Regions from separate parts of the Homo sapiens genome. Here region 2 is linked to region 1. The links are contacts of gene promoters, found by promoter capture Hi-C in human tissues and cell types (Jung and others, 2019). All regions are on one chromosome and are shown on one strand. Each heading gives the region's core, a stretch centred on a gene start or on the middle of the fragment in contact. The rest is flanking DNA. Distances are from core to core; before and after follow the strand shown.

Region 1 (6,043 bases), core at 1,683-4,182:
GTGAACCCAGGGGTGCAGGGTCTCAGCTCCCTTTGTGCCTCCACTCCATGGCTCTCACAGTTCCAGCGGGAGCTGCATCTGAACCTCATGTTCCCAGGTTTACAGTCAGGGCTCTCCTCCTTGCCCTTGGGAGCCCAGGAAGAGCCTGGATGTGCCAGGGCCCCTCTCCAGTGCTAACTCAATGTTCCATCCCACCCAATGCTGCCTCCACACCTGCCTAGGGTCAGATTTAATCCAGCTAAGGGGACTCTGCTTAGAGGTCATGGCCACATGTGCCAATGTGCCAAGCCGTGGGCCCAGCCTCCTCAGACTTTAGCTCACTGAGGCCTCAGGGCAATCTTTGAGAGAGATTGGGGGATGATTTCCATTTCATAGATGAGGAAAACTGAGGCTCAGCTGCCATCACAGAGCAAGTGGATGGAGCCAGAAGTGACTCCAGGGTTATGTGTCTCAAAGCCCCTTAGCTTTCCCATGGCCTCCCTTCTGTTCCTGACAGGGCCATGCGTGCAAACATCCCCAGAGGACAAGAGTGTGATTAATCTTTGCATCCGCCATGGGCCAGTGGCTACACCCAGGCACTGAGAGGCCGGTTGTGAGAGTCTGGGCTGGGCAGGCCCTGGTTCACAGCAGACTCCAAATAACTGTTTATTGGTGGAGGTCAGCCGGGCAGGGATTACCATCTCCAGTTTATAGATGAGGAAGTTGCAATCAGCCGGGTGCAGGAAAGTTGCCCAAGGTCATCCGTGAGTCAGAAGAAGAGCAAAGACTTGAACTCAGAACACTGGGGGCCTCTGCAGAGTAAGAGGAAGGAGGCTGGGGCTGCTGGGCTGGGCTCTCCCACTCAGGTGGCCTGGGCTGGCAGCTTTATGGGCCCTGTAAGTCGCTGGGACATGTCAGCACTCATTCCAGCTCTAACGACCCTAAATCAGGCCTTGTCCCCTACAGGTAAGCAGGGCCCCAGGTAGTCTAAATAGTGACAGGTGACTGGTTTATGGCAGGCCAGGACTGGGGTCAGGGCTGGAGATAAGGCTGAGAATGTTAAGACCAGGAACAGGAAGAGAGGGCCACTCACCCTGTGTAACCTTGAAGTTAGAGATGGCAGATGGAGCAGGAACCAGTCCACCACCCCATCGCCAATGTGCAGGCTCTGTGGTGCCCATAATTAAGATGCACCCATAAGAGAGTGTATAGCTTTACCCCTCCCGCATTCCTCAGAGGGGATGCCCTACCAGGGACTCGTTCTCCTCACCCATCTTTATGGTCCCAAAATGCACCCAGGGCCCCCCTCTCTCCTGGGGGGCCTGAATGCAATGAACTTTAAAGTGGATCATTGATCAACAGTCCCTTAACCCCACCAAAGTTTCCCAAGCCTCTCCCCTGCTCATCAGGGGGCTGGCCAGAGGTCACAGGGACTCCCTGGGGGTGGTTTTTATTCCCAGGAACAGGCTTCCTCAGTCCTGAAAGGGACATTTTTATAGCCCTGTGAACACAAATGCACTCCCCAGAATAGGCTCTGGGTGTGGAATCCCTCCTGTGGCTGTCATGGTCGCAGGCTGGTGATTACATTATACAGTGGTGTTGACAATAGAGCCCTAAGCCTGGCATGGACACCCCCTCACCTCCCTCCTGCCTCTCTGTAGGATCAAAGCTGCTCTGTGAGGCTGTGTGATCCTGGGCCAGGAGCGGGGAGTCAGCCTCAACCCTAAGCAAGGAGGAAGCATCTTTGCCTGAATCCTTCTGGGGGAGGCAATCCCCCTTCAGAAGTCCCTAGCCCAGGTTCGAAGGTCGGTAGGGACTGAGAGGTTGGCAGCGGATGGGGAGTGGCTAAACCAGAAAAAGGGGGCTTCCTGTTGATGGATTGATGGAGGAGGTCCAGGTCCACTGCCTGGTTCCCCGTCCCTCTCCCGCACCCCAGCCTGAGCTTCCCAAACTCCCACAGAAGCCCCCACCCCATGTGGGACACAGAGGACCTGCAGTAGCAGGAGGGCACAGCTAAGAGAGGAGACAAGAGGCAGCTTGGGGGCATGGGGGGGACCCCATTTCCCCAAATGTTGGAGCCGCCCTTAAGGGAACTTCCCCTGGACTCCTCTGGAGGTCTTGCCAGATGGGAGAACCAGGGGTCCATTCAGACCCCAGTCTCTTCTCTTCCCATCTCATCTCTCCACCTGGGGGGCTCAAAGAACCTAGCTCCTCCCCTTTGACCCCATCAGCTTCTCCCTCACCGAATCCTCTTACAATCCATTTCTTAATTCTGCCCCATCAACCCTCCCTGGTCATCACATAAACACCAGCAAGGGCAGTAGTTTAGGGACAGCTTTGCTCTGTATTCGAAGAAAGGTCTTTGGTCTGCTTAGAAATTAAGTTTGGAGCAGCCTGGGAGGAAATAGAAGAGATGAGACCCAGAGAATCAATGGCCACTGCCAAAGAGAGATAGGAGAGCCTTTCTGCGGCCACTGATTCAACAAACGGCATCACACGCCCCTCAGCCTCTCATCTCTTCGAGGCCATCTCCACCCCCACCCCCACCCCCACCCCAAGGCCATTCCAAGGTCCCATTCAAGACCACTGCGCAGGGGTGGCGCCAGAATGATCAAAGTCATCATGGGGCACTCATCTTTGTGTGGGTCAAGCACTTTGTGGTGTCGTGTCCCTGTTCCCAAACCAGGGACCAGGAGTAGGATGGGGGAGGGGCAGGGCGCCGCTGCTGAGTGGAGAGGACGCGGAGTGGGTGAGGGGGCCTTGCGCACAGGGCAAGAGGTGGCCAGGCAGGGCGGGGGACCGGGGAGAGCGGAGGATTTCAGATGAGGGACAGGGGAAGGTGGAGAGGGGAGGGCAGGCCCCGCCAGGGGGAGGAGCCGCCTCCCGCGTCCAGCTGTCGGGGCTCCCTCCCGTCGCGGCTCCGCTATAAAACCCAGGCCGGCAGGATCGCTGCACCCGCGGCGGCCTCCTCGGTGCGCGACCCCCGGCTCAGAGGACTCTTTGCTGTCCCGCAAGATGCGGATGCTGCTGGCGCTCCTGGCCCTCTCCGCGGCGCGGCCATCGGCCAGTGCAGGTGAGCTCCCGGGCTCCGGCCCCAGGTGCCCCTCGGCGGTCCCCTCCGTGCCCCCAGCTCCCGCCCCTGCAGAGGATCCCCCCGCGGGCGACCGGTGAGCGTCGGTGGCGCTGGGGTCCCGGGTTGCGTGTGCGCCGGGGGCCGCGAGGGTGCGGGAGGACTGGGCAGCGCGCGAGCTTGTGTGTGCACACGCGTGTCAGCACCGGCTGGGGGAGCGTGTGCACGGGTGTGCGCGGTGAGGGTGTGTGCGCGTGGCCCGGCGAGACGAGTTGGGAGTCCCTGATAAGGATGCGTCTCAGGCCGGGCGCGGGTGCTCCAGCCTGAAATGCCAGCACGTTGGGAGGCAGAGGCGGGTGGATCACCTGAGCCCAGGAGTTCGAGACCAGCATGGCCAACATGGTGAAATCCCATCTCTACCAAAAATACAAACATTAGCCGGACGTGGTGGCACACGCCTGTAATCCCAGCTACTCGGGAGGCTGAGGCCCGAGAATCGCTTGAACCCAGGAGGTGGAGGTTGCAGTGAGATCACGCCACTGCACTCCAGCCTGGTGCTCCGTTTAAAAAAAAAAAAAAAAAAAAAAAAAAAAAAAAAAAAGGATGCTTCTCGGACCCGCCTCAACGCACGCCTTCTTTTCTCACCCAGCCTCCTCCGTCTGCCCGTGGGTTTCCGTCCGTCCCGCTGGGACTCAGCGCTGGGTGACTGCCCCGCGGCCAGAGCAAGGGCGGTCTGGCAGGGTCCTGGAAGCCGCGCTTCCCACACGGGTTCCTTGCCCCTGAGGGTCGCAAGCTCCCCTGGCCTCCCTAACCTCCAGCGCTGAATTGGGAGCCTGGCGGGGGCGGGGGGTGGGGGACCCGGAGCCCCAAGGCCTCTGCGGAGCCGGTCTTTCCGGACAGGGTGATTTTCGTTTAAAGATTAATGGTGAAGCCGAGCTCTTAATTATTCCTCTAGGTGGGAGGTGGCAGGAAAGGCATGTTAATATTTGATAAGAAGCTAAAGGCGCTTCAAGCGGCTGGGCACAGGGATCCGATCCTGGAGGCACCTTCTTTGCAACCCCAGACCCCATCACCGGAAGACCCCCTCTGCCAGTTCTCAGCCCAACCACCCCTCGGATGGTTCTTGGGGTCCACGCAGGCTGAAACCTCCTCTCCCAAGTTAGGTGCTCCATCCTCAAAGCGGCGGAGTGAGGGGTGAAGGTGTCCTCTGCACAGAGAGGAGCCAGCGTGTGCCCTTTGCAGCAGGGACTGGCTGAGCTGTCTTAGAGGGTCGAGGGGCACCTTGCAGCCTCTCCACCGGGCCCCTGGGAGAAGAAAGAGAAAAAGCAGAATGTGGAAACTTTTATTTGTAGGGTTGGACATTGGAAACCTACTAAGCAGCTAGAAAGTAGAAAGAGAAATGCTTTGCAGTTCTGGTGCTTTGTAGCTGTGTGGTCTTGGGTAAGTCACTTCCTGTCCCATTTGCAAAACAGGTGTTGTCATTCTGACTTCAGGGGTTTTAAGCGTTTGAATAAGATAATGGGTTTAAGTGATTAGTGCGGTGCCTGTGTGGCACGTGGCTGGTGTGTCATATACCAAGTTTATGGGGCTCTCCCCCAAGCCTGGGGCCAGTGTCAGGAATGTGTCTCAGCTCACCCCTCACACAAGCTGCTATCCCCTTTAGTGCCAAGGCTTTCTGACTGGGACCTGCCTTCCATTCATCTTATGGAGGACTCAAGCTGAGAAGGGACCAGGTTGCATATGGCGACCCCCAGAGCATCTCTGTCCATTGAGACAAGAGGCCGGGTGAGGATATTTGGTCCCCTTCAGAGCCCCAGACCCCTGGCCGGGAGCGACTGAGACTTTGCCCAGGAAACACTTGGGTTGTGCTGAGCTGTTTTTCAGGATTATCCCCTGTCCCTCAGAGGGGGAGGTGGGGTGAGCAAGGTCCATTAGAGAGGCTTCTTCAGCCATCTTGAAATAAGGGGGAGGGGTGGCAGGTCAGTCAGTGTGGGGGGCAGTAGCTGGGTGACAGGCGACTGACTTTCGGTCTCTAACCTCTGGTCAGGGTGGATGGACTAGGTAGGATGTGGCGCTGGACACCGAGACCTCTGGGTAGGTAGCCCCTCTCCTTCCCAAGCCCTCTTGGGAGTGGCCTGAGTCAGTGGGCTGGTACTTACCTGCAAGGGTGGCCCTCTCATTCAACGAAGACAGGAACCTGAGTGGTGGGTGCTCCTGCCACCAGCACCCCACCCTCATCCACCGACATGGACCTGACCCCTGGCCTTGACCTCACCACCATTATGTTTTCCTGGCTGCTGCTTCCTGAAGAAGGTAGTTACAAGTGCGTTCAGCCAAGCAGGTCAAAAGTCTCCATGATTAAGACAGTGGATCACAGGTCACCACTACAAACCTAGGAGCTGCGGCCAGAGCCAGGGAAGACCAAATTCCTAAGAAAAGCTAAGCCTGGACCAGATGGGCCCCAGGGAGGCTGTGAGGCGAGTTACAGGGGGCTCCACCCTTTGCAGCTGGCTCTTGGGGATGCTGGCTGAAGGGAGGCTTCTCCTGGAATGGCTGCCCCCGGGCCCTCCAGTCAGAGAAGAGGCCAGCCCAATCTTCAAAACCCCTTCCTCCTTCAAGACCTCTGCGGGTGGGGACATGGGATGATTATGGCAAGGAACTGTCATGGTGCAAATGCCCTCTGATTTATTATCTCCTTAGTCACCAGCACTGGGAATTTGGTGGCTGCACCTGTCAGAGGCGTTTGAACCAGAGTGACTCCATTTTGGGTGAGAGCTAGGAAAATGAGGCCGAGATTTGCTGGGCTGCATTATCAGAAAGTCAGGCATTTCTAGCCTCTAGATGTTTGCAGTTAAGGGAACAAATTAATAATATTTACTACACAGACCCAGACTTGGGAAGGTCCAGATACTCCGATATCTGGAGAGCAAAGGCATTCCTAATTTTGCTTTAAAAATAATAATGTTGGCTGGGCACGGTGGCTCACACCTGTAA
Region 2 (6,043 bases), core at 1,057-3,556, 51 kb after region 1:
CATAGCTAAGGGCTTTTAAACAATTAAGGCTCTTTCTTTCTCCAGAAAATATGCCAGTAAGCTGGGTGTGGTGGCTCACGCCTGTAATCCCAGCACTTTGGAAGGCTGAGGCAAGAGGATCCCTTGAGCCCAGGAGTTTGAGATCAGAATGGGCAATGTAGGGAGACCCTATCTCTATAAAGAAATAAATACAATTAGCTGGGCATGGTGGCATGTGTCTGTAGTCCCAGCTATACAGGAGGCTGAGGTGGGAGGATTGCCTGAGTCTGGCAAGTTGAGGGTACAGTGAGCTGTGATCGTGCCACTGCACTCCAGCCTGGAAGGTAGAGTGAGACCTGTCTCAAAAAAAAAAAGAAATGAAAAGATGCCAGTGGAAAAAAAAAAAAAAGACTCTCTCAACTATAGTTTTCTAGGGATAAGCTGTTGATAGTGGTTGTTGGAGTGGCAATTTCCAAAGTTTTGGAGATTTGTGAAACCTAGTAATTCTATTTTATAACAAGCTTATCCACCTTCCTAAAAGCAGTTAAGTGATTTTAATCTTTTTTTTTGTTTTTTAAATACAGGATAGGATAAAAGTAAGGTAAAATTTTTAAAATTTGCTTTGAGTACGTTAAAGAGATATTTACGATATTCCTTAATATAGAGATACTGCACAGAATTATCCTGGAAATGGCTGTTAAATAAACATTTAGTATAATGGAATGGTTGGTGGGAGTTCAAGGTTATCTAAAGCTGCTGAACCTTTGAACATTTAATTCCCTAAGAAGTTTGGTATTTATTGAGTAGTTAGAAAAGCTAAATCAACAACTTATCAACTCACTAGGGGTTAAGTTAGCTAGTTTCTAAGTAAAAAGACCCTTTATTCAGATTATTAAGCATTTTATTTTGCCATTTTCATTTAAGCTTAAATACATAATTTTAAGCCTCTATTTCATATGTTACTATTATTATAAGATCCAGAGAAATCCAGACAGAGTTCAGTACAAATATTTTATAAAATTTTAAAACGTAGCTAAACCCACACAATTTTCATCCTCTCATTAAGGAACTTCTCCTAGTGCCCTAGGGCCCATACTTTCTCAGTTACTACTGAGATAAATTCTACTCCTAGTTATTAACATGGTTAGAAACTTCAAGCCAGGGCCAGGTGCAGTGGCTCATGCCTGTAATCCCAGCACTTCAGGAGGCCGAGGCGGGCGGATCATGAGGTCAGGAGTTCGAGACCAGCCTGGCCAATATGGTGAAACCCTGTCTCTACTAAAAACACAAAAATTATCTGGGCATGGTGGCAGGCACCTGTAGTCCCAGCTACTCGGGAGGCTGAGGCAGGAGAATCACTTGAACGCAGGAGGCATAGAGTACAGTGAGCCGAGATCGTGCCATTGCACTCCAGCCTGGCCGACAACAGCAAGACTCTGTCTCAACCAAAAAAAAAAGAAAGAAATTTTAAGCCAAGGGCTACTAATGCAGAGAAAAATAAAAATCAGAGGTAAAAGGGTACATTTCTGGCTGGATGTGGTGGCTCACACCTGTAATTCCAGCACTTTGGGAGGCCAAGGTGGGTGGATCACCTGAGGTCGGGAGTTCGAGACAGCCTGACCAACATAGAGAAACTCTGTCTCTACTAAAAATACAAAATTAGCCAGGCGTGGTGCCGCATGCCTGTAATCCCAGCTACTCAGGAGGCTGAGGCAGGAGAATCACTTGAACACAGGAGGCGGAGGTTGCAGTGAGTTGAGGGCCTGCCACTGCACTCCAGCCTGGGCAACAAGAGTGAAACTCCATTGCAAAAAAAAAAAAAAAGTACATTTCAAATAATTATCACAAAGCAACTAGCTTTCCATTATCACTGAGTTTAAGAAACAGAATATAGCGAACACTCAAAAGCCTCCCATTTGCTTCCTCCAAATCACAAATTCTCCCTTCCTCACAAAGGTAACTATTATTCTAAATGTTACAGTAATCACTTTCTTGCTTTTCTTTACAGTTTTATATCCTATGCACAAGTAAATAAACACTAGATTTCATTTTCCCTGTTTTAAAAGTTTTTATATTTATAAATAGAATTACTTAATTCATTTTTGTTTGTTTGTTTTTTGTTTTTTGAAACAGGGTCTAGCTCTGTCATCCAGGCTGGAGCGTAGTGGTGTGATCTCAGCTCACTGCAACCTCCACCTTCTGGGCTTGAGAGATTCTCTTGCCTCAGCCTCCCAAGTAGCTGGGACTACAGGTGTGTGGCACACGCTGGCTAATTTCTGTATTTTCTGTAGAGATGGGGTTTCACCATGTTGCCCAGGCTGGTCTTAAACTCCTGGGCTCAAGCAATCGGCCCACCTCAGCCTCCCAAAATGCTGAGATTACAGGTGTGAGCCACCGTGCCTAGCCTAATTCTTTTGTGTTTGGCTTCTTTCCATCAACATTAGGTTTACGAGATTCATTTATACTCTATATAACTACAAATCCATTCATTTTCATTCCTGTATAATGTTCCATTATCTTAATATATCTCAGCTTCCCAATCCCTTCTACAACTAATGGACATGCAATGTTTTCATTTTGGGGCTACTATAGATAATGGTGCTACGAATATTCTTGTACATATCTCCTGGTACACATATCTCTTGGGTGGATACCTACAGGTAGAACTGCTTATCTTTAACTAGAAAATTGTATTCCAAAGTAGTTGTTTATAGTATTTAATTTATAATTAAAATTATTTATAATTAAATATAAAGTTAATTTATATTCTCATCAGCATGGTATGAGAGTTCCTGTTGCTCTACTTAGCAACCCTGTCAGTCTGTTTAATTTTACCTGTTCAGGTGAGTGCACTGATATCATAATATTGTTTTAATTTACATTTCACTGATTACTAGTGTCGTTGATCATTTTTTTTTTTTTTTTGAGACGGAGTCTCGCTCTGTTGCCCAGGCTGGAATGCAATGGCATGATCTCGGCCCATTGCAACCTCTGCCTCTGGGGTTCAAGTGATTCTCCTGCCTCAGCCTCCCGAGTAGCTGGGACTACATGTGCCCACCATCACGCCCAGTTAATTTTTGTATTTTTAGTAGAGATGGAGTTTCACCATATTGGCCAGGCTGGTCTTGAACTCCTGACCTTGTGATCCATCCGTCTCGGCCTCTCAAAGTGCTGGGATTATAGGCGTGAGCCACCGCACCCAGCCAAGTTATCAATTTTAATGAAGTCCAATTTAATCTTTTCTTTTATATGAGTAGCGTCAGGAATGTATTTACCAGTATTATCTTCCAAGGGCTGTTTCATTGTTTTGCTTTCAAATTTAGCTCTATAGAACACCTGGAATTGTGGTGAAAGGTAGGTGCCAAGTTTCATATGGATATCTAATTGTCCCAGCACCACTTGCTGAGAAAACTATCTTTCTCTCACCACTCTGCAATGTTATCTTTGTTATAAATCAGGTGTTCATACATTTGTGAACTGGTTTCTGGGCTCTCTATTCTATCCCAATGGTCTACTTGTCTTTTCTTGTACCAATATGACATTATTTTAAATATCATATCTTTGTGAAATAAATCTTGATATCTGGATGATATCCAATCTTGATGATATCCTCATATCTTACTCTTCTTCAAGAGTATCTTGGTTATTCCTGGTGCTTTGTATTTCCACATATGAGAATCAGCTTATCAAATCACACACACACACACACACACACACACACACACACGCAGACTTTGCATTTGTATTGGGATTGTGCATTAAGTCATCCGTAGATTAGTTTGTAGAGAACTGATATCTTAAAATATTGAGTCTTCTAATCCATGAACATGGTTTACTCCTTCCAATATTTCAGTCTTCTTTAATTTCTATCAATATTTTATTTTCTATATAGATGTCTTATGTGTCATTTTTAAAGTTTATTCCTAGGTACTTAATTTTTTCTCAGCATTTAATTTTTTTGATACTAAGATAAATAATATCTGTAGTTGAGTTGAATGGTGGCCTCTAAAACAGTATATCCATATATCCATGTTCTAACCCCTGGAACCAGTAAATGTGACCTAATTTGGTAAAAGGATGTTTGTAGATGTAATTAAGTTGAGGATGTCAAGATGAGATCATCCTGGATTGTCTGGGTGGGCCCTAAATTCAATAAGTATCCTTATCAGAGAAAGACAGAGAGAAGGAGAAGGCTATATGAAGAGGCAGGGATTGCAGTTATGCAGTCACAAGCCAAAGAATGCCTGGAGCCACCAGAGGTTAGAAGAGACAAGAAAGCATTCTCTCCTAGAACCTTTGGAGGAAGCCCCCACCCTACAGAAACCTTAGTTTCAGACTTCTGGCCTCCAGAAGGTGAAAGAATAAATTTCTGGGCCGGGTGCAGTGGCTCATACCTGTAAACCCAGCACTTTGGGAGGCCGAGGCAGGCAGATCACGAGGTCAGATCAAGACCATCCTGGCCAACATGGTGAAACCCCATCTCTACTAAAAATACAAAAATTAGCCAGGCATGGTGGCGTGCACCTGTAGTATCAGCTACTTGGGAGGCTGAGGCAGGAGAATTGCTTGAACCCAGGAGGCGGAGGCTGCAGTGAGTGGAGATCACGCCACTGCACTCCAGCCTGGGCGACAGAGCGAGACTGTCAAAAAAAAAAAAAAAAAAAAAAAAAGAATATATTTCTGTTGTTTAAAGCCACCAAATTTGTGGTAATTTGTTATAACAGTCCTAAGAAACCAATACAGTACCTTTTTTACAATTTCGTTTTCTCTTGTTGCTGCTATACAATCAATTTACTTGATCTAGAAGCCTTGCTTTCCTTTATTTTATTTATTTATTTATTTAAGACGGAGTTTTGCTCTTGTCGCCCAGGCTGGAGTGCAATGGCACGATCTCGGCTCACTGCAACCTCCGCCTCCCAGGTTCAAGCGATTCTCCTGCCTCAGCCTCCTGAGTAGCTAGGACTACCGGCGTGTGCCACCATGCCTGGCTGATTGTTGTATTTTTAATAGAGACGGGGTTTCACCATCTTGGCCAGGCTGGTCTCGAACTCCTGACCTCACGATCCACCCGCTTCGGCCTCCCAAAGTGCTGGGATTACAGGCATGAGCCACTGTGCCCGGCCTTTCCTTTACTTTATAAAATTAAGACACTAAAGTCCAAAGAGCTCAATCAGCTATCTAGTGGCAGAATTAGAACTAAAACATAGGTTGCTAAATTCCTAGTTCAGTGCCCTTTCTACTCTACCAAGTTGCCACTATACCCGAAGACTACCTCTTTAACAATTATCCACTGACCAGTTTTCAAACCTTCCTTTTTCTTTTTTACCAAAGAGTCAACCTTTAATGCAATAGTTATATATTAGACTGTCAAGAGAGGAATTACGCACAACTTGATTTTCCTCAAGAACATTCTTGTATCCTCTAAGAAAAAAAACAAAACAAAACAAAAAAACCAACCCCAAAACAAAAAACTTTTCCGAAGCCATCCGCATTTACGTGGCAGTGAAGATATACATACCTACACAAACACACAGGAAACATAAATTTTGTGTGTGTTGGTTTTTGTTTTTTTCTAATTTTTTTAGAGACAAGGTCTCACTTATTGCCCAGGTTGGAGTGGAGTGGTTATTTACAGGTGTGAGCATCATAGCATATTATAGCTTCAAAATCCTGTCCTAAAGGGATCCTCCTAAACATGCCTGGCTTAGGAGATACTTTTTTTTTTTTTTTTTTTTGAGACAAAGTCTCACTTTATCACCCAGGCTGGAGTGCTGTGGCGCAATCTTCGCTCACTGCAACCTCTGCCTCCTGGGTTCAAGCAATTCTCCTGCCTCAGCATCTCGAGTAGCTGAAGCTACAGGCGCATGCCACCATGCCCAGCTAATTTTTTTATTTTTAGTAGAGATGGGGTTTCACCACATTGGCCAGGCTGTTCTCAAACTCCTGACTTCAGGTGATCCCCCTGCTTCAGCCTCCCAAAGTGCTGGGAGTATAGATGTGAGCCACCGCACCTGGCCATTTTCTTTCTTTCTTTCTTTTCTTTTTCAGACAGGGTCTTGCCCAG

Evidence for each region. Contacts are between HindIII fragments. The study calls those that stand out against the background at their distance.
Region 2: a fragment that was not itself captured here is called in contact with the fragment with the promoter of CA4 in region 1 in 2 of the 25 tissues and cell types used here (H1 embryonic stem cells and aorta).

Annotation. Positions count from the first base shown.
Region 1 is chr17:60,147,041-60,153,083 of GRCh38, forward strand. It overlaps CA4 (carbonic anhydrase 4), which reads left to right and starts at 2,933. Exons shown (of 8, transcript NM_000717.5): 1 at 2,933-3,052. The coding sequence starts at 2,995. The HindIII fragment of the contact is 35,208 bases long and covers 1-6,043 here.
Region 2 is chr17:60,198,773-60,204,815 of GRCh38, forward strand. The region is part of intron 26 of USP32 (ubiquitin specific peptidase 32); the gene reads right to left. Among named protein-coding and RNA genes, the nearest start is that of CA4, 52 kb to the left of the region's middle. The HindIII fragment of the contact is 3,210 bases long and covers 702-3,911 here.